Regions from separate parts of the Homo sapiens genome. Here region 1 is linked to region 2. The links are contacts of gene promoters, found by promoter capture Hi-C in blood cells and fetal thymus (Javierre and others, 2016). All regions are on one chromosome and are shown on one strand. The core of a region is centred on a gene start or on the middle of the fragment in contact, and the rest is flanking DNA. Distances in the headings are between cores, read along the strand shown. Region 1 has its middle 210 kb from the start of LINC02344. Region 2 holds the start of FRY-AS1 (FRY antisense RNA 1).

Region 1 (3,839 bases), core at 1,100-3,599, 1.5 Mb after region 2:
ATTTGGCAATTTCGGACAATCTTTCTTATATCCTCCGGCCCACTGCTGTTTCTTTCAAAATATCTACTTAAAAGCCTGTATTCCTTTCCCTCTGGCTTTTACAAGGATTGTTTTTATATAGGCCCTGGACTGCAAAGAGCTTTGAAATCCAGATAAAAGTGTTTACCAAGGCTGAAGAAATTTTCCAGGAGAACTGAGCACTTTGCACAGATGACATTTTTGGAATTAGTTTAAAATTAAACGGAGCGGATGCAGATTCATACAGATTTTATTTCTGCAACACACTTGGTTGTTTCCTTGCAGCATCTAAAAACAAAGCCAATGCACTTTCAGAAACTACTATGGTCCTCCAAAATTCAAAAGTGAAAAAATGACAAAATTTTTCTTTGTAACACATCTGCACAAGAGGCTTTCCTTTAAAATTTGATAAAAGACCAAGGCCACACCAGAAAACACAGAATATAAAACTGTGTATCGACAAAAATTAAAAACTAAACTCCTTAAGAGAATCGCTTGCTAAAAAGTTTAAAAAACACGAAGACATGCTTTCTTAAATAATTTGAAAATGTTTTTGGTTCCACACGAGTAGTCTATTTGTTTGCGTGCCTTTTTTATTCCTTGTGACACCCCTACCTTCTCAGAATAAACACTGAAAGATGAACAGACCGGGGGATCAAGCCGGTTCACTAAGATTTAGAGGGGAAGGCTGGGTCCATCTTAGCACTGAGACCGCACCCAGACTGCATTTGGATCGCTAAGGACTAAGAAAACAGTACAGATCCAGTTTTACCTCTTATACCATTAATTTTCCATAAAGCCTTCCAGAAACCTGACTCACAGCCAGAAACCCAAACCCCGTGGGCGGGATTTAAAACAAAACCCATTACGCCACCATTTCCGCCTTGCCTGCCTAGCAAACGTGCAAACATTGAAAAAGACGCACACGCAGACCGCGCCTACGTCCCCAAAGTGCGCAAGCGCACGGCGAGACCCCGCCCCTCGCCCTCCCACCAAGACGAGGCGCGCGCACCAGCAACCAGGGCCCGCTGGCGCCGCCCCGGGTTTCCGCTCCGGGGCTCGTCGGTCGCCGTTCGGTTCCGGTTCTGGCCCCGCCCTCACGCGGGAACCCTCCAGAAGTCTTAATATCCGGGACCAGAGGCTGGTTGCAGCGCACATTTCCGGCAACGAGCGCAAAGGAAGGGATCCGGTGACGCCTCTTCCCGTCTCCCCAGCGGCCCAGGCTCTGGCTCTCGGTGCGGCAGCGCCATCTGGTGCCGAGTCTCCCGCCACCCGCGGAGGTGGCACGCGCCCTTCTCTCGGAACCTTCCAGAGAAACCGTGGCCCCTGCTTTCCTTTCTCCCGCCCTGGACGGGGAGGGACCCGAGTCTCCGCCCCGCCGAGTTCCCGCGCGGGAGGGACTTTGTGGCGACTCTGAAGCGGAAGCTGCCTGTAGGAGGAGCTTTACAAACCCAAAATGGAGCGGAAACTGTTCTTTCTCTAGTTTTAAGTCCAGAAGAAACGGCGTCCTTTTATTTTTTGCTTCCTTATGCGTTGTTGCTGGGTCATTCTCAGTCTTCCCCGTATCAGTTCTTTAATCTTTGAGGACTGGGACCCTGTATTAATTGCCTGGTAGGAAGATGACACGAGCTTTGTGGCTTACATTGGCCTCTGCTGTAAAAGCTTTTGTTTCCTTTGGCCTATTAAAGCGCTGTTGTAAAAGCCTGCTGTGTATGTTAGGAACCCATCGAGAAGCAGAATGTAGTAATTTGCTTTAAAATAGGCCATGGAAGTTTCAGAAAGGTAGCCTCAGAAATGCTCAATGTAGATTCGTTTGCATGTCACGTTTCTTTTAGATAATCAGAGAAAGGAAAAGTAATTTCCCCAAAGTTAGTAAAATCAACACATTTTCCTTTAATAATGTTCTTTTTTTCCTGTAATCTTGGAGTACTAACAGAGTTGTTCTAAATGTTTTATTGGAATGGTGCTGTGGATATCAAAATATATAATGAAACAAATTTCCTTTAGAGTTTAGATAGCACATGTTAACTTGACTCTTTGATTGTATTTCTCCTATAGTAATGCTTCTCAAACTGGAGCATGCATCCAGATTCTCTAGAAGGCTTGTTAAAACAGATTGCTGGGCCTCAACACCAGAGGTTATAACTGGGAGGGAAGGTCTGAGGATACAGCTGGATTAGTGTAGCTCTAGTAAAATCTCAGGTGATTCTGATGCTGTTGGTACTAGGACCACACCTGGAATAATTTAGAGTTCAGGATTGCTTTGTCAATAATGCTTTTTGCTGTTGCAGGACAGACGGTACTAAAATATACTGGTGATACTAAGCCTGCACAAGTTAGTAGTCCTTTTGACTCCGTGGATGGGAAGTAGTAAACTAAACCCTAGAACCAGTAGAGAGCTACATAAATGTTCACAGATTAAAGCAACCAGTTCATAGAAATGTATTCTGTATATGATCATGTGATAGAGGGTGCTGTAATACCAAGTATACTAAATATTTCAGTTATTATACAGTAATTGTTCTTTAGCTGTTAAATTAGAAATGACTAAAATTAAGGACAAAATAGTTTAAACAATCATACTAATTTTACCCTTTGGAAGATGCCAGGTTTTTTTCAGTCTTTTGCATTTCCTCAAGTTCCCTTGTTTTACGGAATTCTCTACCCCCAGCCCACTCCCATCCCTACCGTGCCATTTATAAATGTACACAGTGCTTACATTATAAAAAATGATCATCTCAGAACTTGTCTCATCTTTTCAGCAGGACTTTTCTCAATTCTGTCAAATTCTGACTGTGCCACTGCCTTTATTGACACAGTAATTAAATCACGCAGTGATTAAAGTGTGCTGCACACTGTAACTTTTGTGCTTGCTACAAATAGAAATACAGATATTGTTAGATAAGTTTATGTTTATGATAATCAGTTCCTAAAATGTAGAAAGCAGTCGGTTTTCTGGTCTCAGTTTTATTTAAATCACTGCTATTTTGTTTACTGGATGTAAGCTTCCCCCTCTCTGCTCTAGCCTGAATGGGCCTTCGTGAAAAGAAGAAAAAAAAGATTGAGAACAACTGTCTTAAAACCATGGTATTTCCCTAATAGGCTAGTACCATGTATTTGGATAATTACTGATGAATCATTTAAATCAGGGAAAGGTGCATGGTTTTGTTTTTTTGTTGTTTTTTCTCTTTTTTTTTTTTTTTTTTTTTGAGATGGAGGCTTGCTCTGTCGCCCAGGCTGGAGTGCAGTGGCCAGATTTCAGCTCACTGCAATCTCTGCCTCCCGGGTTCAAGCGATTCTCCTGCCTCAACCTCCTGAGTAGCTGGGACTACAGGCGTGTGCCACCACACCTGGCTAATTTTTTTGTTTTATTTATTTATTTATTTATTTGAGACGGGGTTTTGCTCTTGTTGCCCAGGCTGGGGTGCAATGGTGCGATCTCAGCTCATCACAACCTCTGCTCCCAGGTTCAAGTGAGTCTTCTGCCTCAGCCTTCCTGAGTAGCTGGGATTACAGGCATGTGCCACCATGCCTGGCTAAAATTTTGTATTTTCCTTAGTAGAGATCAGTTTTCTCCATGTTGGTCAGGCTGGTCTCGAATTCCTGACCTCAGGTGATCCACCCGCCTTGGCCTCTCAAAGTGCTGGGATTACAGGTGTGAGCCACCGCGCCTGGCCTAATTTTTTGTATTTTTAGTAGAGACGGGGTTTCACCGTGTTAGCCAGGATGATCTCGATCTCCTGACCTCGTGATCCGCCTGCCTCGGCTTCCCAAAGTGCTGGGATTACAGGCGTGAGCCACTGTGCCTGGCCCGAAAGGTG
Region 2 (3,663 bases), core at 336-2,835:
TTTCAGATATAATAATTGTTTCAAGGTAAAACCTTTGGGTCTTATTTTACCTAGAATCCATACATTCAAAGTACAAGTGATAAAATCAGTTCAGCAACTCTAGTATGCACATGAATTAAAAAGAAGTCAATCTGGTGAGAGATTTCATCAGAATAAAGTGTATAAGTGGAGTTGGAAATCTGAGTGATTGAGTGCTTGCCATTTGGGTAAGTGTAATGAGTTTGAAAAACTAATTGTATTGATGAAGTATCTTAGGGCCTTTCAGAACATAGTTCTAGAAGTTTTATTTAGTGTTGAATTTTAAAAATTCTTTGTCCTAACAATAAAAGTACATTGTAGTCTTTCCCTTCCATTTTTAAAATGAACTGTTAATCTAGGAAGTCCTGTTTGTGTGTTGATTTGGGGAGTTAGCCCAACATTTGCTATGTTAAATACTTATTAACATGGTTTATTACTTTTTTCTGTTTTTTAGACAACATTAATCATGAATGTACTGGGACTTGGGAAGGATCCTGTGGTTTATGAGATAGTTGGCCAAATCCCACCTCTTCCAACATAACCTGTCATTATTAAAATATAATACTCTTATTTAATCCCCTGGTCAAGCTAAATGATAATGTGAAACAAAGCTAACCAAAATCAGGACACCTGATATCAAGAATTCATGAAATCAAGAGCCATTGTAGAGCAAGGAATCTAATGCTTTTGCTTCTTATCCTTTTCATACAAATAAAATAAGCTTCACTGGGCTTAGTGAGTCTTAGAAATGAGAGGTTTGAGAATAAGATCCATTGTGGAGTGTGTGACATTACAAAAACAAGCCAACTAAGCAGTGTGTACTGTCCCCTTAGAGTGCACACGTTCGGGCTCCGATGCCCCTTGAAAAGACTGCATTTCTGGGAGGGAAAAGTAAAAATGCAGATACCACCATGCGTGTGGAAGGCAGGGAAGAAAAAGCCCAGACAAGCGTCCTCTTGTTGAGTCTCTTTACTGCAACGAGGCTGACGGATGGGGTTTTTCAAAACGTCGCTGCAACCAGATGCAAGGCTGCAGCTTTGCTTACCGCAGCGTGCTGCAGTTGTGTTTATTTCAGGGACAGACACAAGGGGAAGCAGCAGCCAGAGCACACCCGGGCCGCTCACGGGAAGCCTTGCTGAAGAGAGAGGATCCGCAGAAGCTGGGAAATTCCTCCCGCAGCCTAGGCGGAGACTGAGCCGCGGCTCAGGTTGAGACAGTGGGCAGGGGCAGGGGGCGGCGCTCCCGGCCCATCCCTTAGCCCCGCGGCGGCCGTGTGGGCCGGAGGCTGCCTGCACCGCGTCAGGGAGGCCGGCCTAGAAACCCTCCCTCCCAGAAGAAAGCCGATCCCAGTTCAGGTGGGGTCTTCCTCGGTTGCGTACCTGGCTGGAGCCGAGCTGGTGGGCGGCCGGCAGCCGGCGTTTCTGGTGATGACAGCCCCGAAATGAAAGCAGCGCGGCCGCCGCCTCCGAGGGCTGCAGGGAGATCAGCGTCCAGCAAATAAGAAGCAAGTCCTGGACCCGGAGGAGGAGGAGCGGCCGAGCATCTCTCTCTGCTCCGCCGTGTCCTTTAGATGAGCACTCCCGGCCGGAGCCGGAGGTGGATCCGCAGAGCTGCCTCTGGGCGCCTGACCCCGCGCTGACATCACAACCTGTGACAGGCGCATCACGCCCGGTACCTGCTCCCGGCCGCTGCCCGTCCTCCCAGCCTCTTTGTATGCCGCAGACATGGCCAGCCAGCAGGATTCGGGCTTCTTTGAGATCAGTATCAAATATTTACTGAAATCCTGGAGTAATAGTGAGTAATAGAAAATAACCTTTTTGTTTGTTTGTTTGCTGGATGTTGCATAAGGCTGGAGACAGAAAATCTCAACTGGACACATATGTTTGTGAGCCGCGGAAGTTTTTCTTTTTTTCTTTTCTTTTCTTTTCTCTTTCTTTCTTTCTTTCTTTCTTTTTCTTTCTTTCTTTCTTTCTTTTTTTGCTCCCATCTGCTGTGAAAATCAAAATGTCAGAGACTGAACTAGCTTTCCTTAAGTGCAAAGGCTGCAATGGAATTACAGTAGATTGTGTTTGATTAAATTTTCAAGTGAGGCAGCCCTTCAGACTCTGGGGGAGCTCAGGATCAGGCATTCCTGGCTGCATTTCCTGCCTTGATGTTTATTTGATTTGTTCAGGCTTTCTCTAAATATTTTGTGAAGTGTGATTTAATCAAAGGGGTGTGGCAGGGTTTCAGAGTACTTTGTAATTGTTTTTTTAGGGTATTGTCTGAAGAAAGAAAAGTATTTAATAGTCCAAAACCTAGGACATCCTTTTTGTATATAGAGGCATCTGCAGATTTATTTCATCTCTCCCTCTTCCATGTGGATGATGTTCTGAATGCCATTTAATATTTGAATTTTTAAAAATCCTGATGTTTGCTATAGTCCAAATATTGTGCTTTTTTGAAACATAAACAAGTGAGGTTCTGACCCTAATTATTTATTAGGATAGCAGAATATGATGGCTCCTGAAGTTCCATTTCTGACCTACATAAGGATTTTAGCAATACGCTATTTCAAAAAGACAACCTCTAAGCTGCCGTGGATCTGGAATCAAATTAAAATGAGGCCTTCAGGTGATCAATGATGCCTTGTATTTTCCGAACTGTTTAAAAAGAAAGTCTTCTCTATTTCACTAACAGCCTTTGTACTTGCTTTGGATAAAAGATCAGCAGGTATTACTGATGCTTTATTGTTTTAAATAAAAAAATTTTTTCCCCGTGAAAATTTTAATATTGTATTATGTGCATACTGATTAACCTACCTGTGCTCAAAGAGCTAGTGATTAATTGTCTCCTACACAAATGACCTGTGGCCAAGATTGTTCTTATATAAACAAAACCTGGGCAGGAGAACCTGTGCTGCAATTGCTTTGAGGAAAAGAGCTAAAGTACCTTCAGCCTTAAGGTATTCAGGGATGTGCATCTCTAAATGATATCCATAGAAACCATTTTTTCCAGGTCATTTTGCACCACTGTATACACTATGGGGCTTGTCTGAAGCTGTTTTTCTACAAGTGGGAAGCCATTTGGGAGTAATACTGTTGCCCAAACAGCATTCTTTACTTGTCATAGCTATAAATCATTTAACTTGGACTCATTATTTTTATAATACTTTACACTCAAGGATGAATCTTCCTTTGTCTATCTGCTCTTTGATTAATGAAAAGAATTTGACATACAGTGTTCTTTATGGAGCAGTTTTCCAATAACTGAAAAAACTCACTTTTGAGTTGACATCAGTACGTGGTTTTTAAACATATTTGATTATTCCAAGACCAGACTGTTTTCTTCCATCAATTTTTGTCATTGCATCATTAAATAGAAAATTATGTTGTGACAATACTGAGGCCAATGGGATTTCTTTTAAAAATTTCTCTCCCCTTGTCTATTTTCAAATCACTCTAGATAAAGTATATATTCTCTCCACCCTTCCTAAACTCCTCTCCCCACATACATACTTCAGGAAATGATTCAAAATGACTGTTCATTTCTACTTTGAGAATATCTGTGATACAATTTTGAATTCTTCCAATTCATTCAGCAAATATTTATTGAATACCTACTATGTGCCAGGCTGTGGGGCTACACAAGGTGAATAAGACACAG

What was found. Contacts are between HindIII fragments. The CHiCAGO score rates a contact against its expected background, and 5 or more counts as called.
Region 1: a contact is called between a fragment that was not itself captured here and the fragment with the promoter of FRY-AS1 in region 2, in 1 of 17 cell types (fetal thymus). The highest score is 10.1, in fetal thymus.

What each region holds. Positions count from the first base shown.
Region 1 is chr13:33,541,565-33,545,403 of GRCh38, forward strand. It overlaps a transcript of STARD13 not described here. Among named protein-coding and RNA genes, the nearest start is that of LINC02344, 210 kb to the left of the region's middle. RefSeq lists enhancers at 1,243-1,342, 1,443-1,552. The HindIII fragment of the contact is 1,343 bases long and covers 1,679-3,021 here.
Region 2 is chr13:32,030,054-32,033,716 of GRCh38, forward strand. It overlaps FRY-AS1 (FRY antisense RNA 1), which reads right to left and starts at 1,586. Exons shown (of 4, transcript NR_103839.1): 1 at 1,398-1,586. FRY (FRY microtubule binding protein) reads left to right here and starts at 1,721. Exons shown (of 61, transcript NM_023037.3): 1 at 1,721-1,812. The coding sequence starts at 1,743. The HindIII fragment of the contact is 3,062 bases long and covers 738-3,663 here.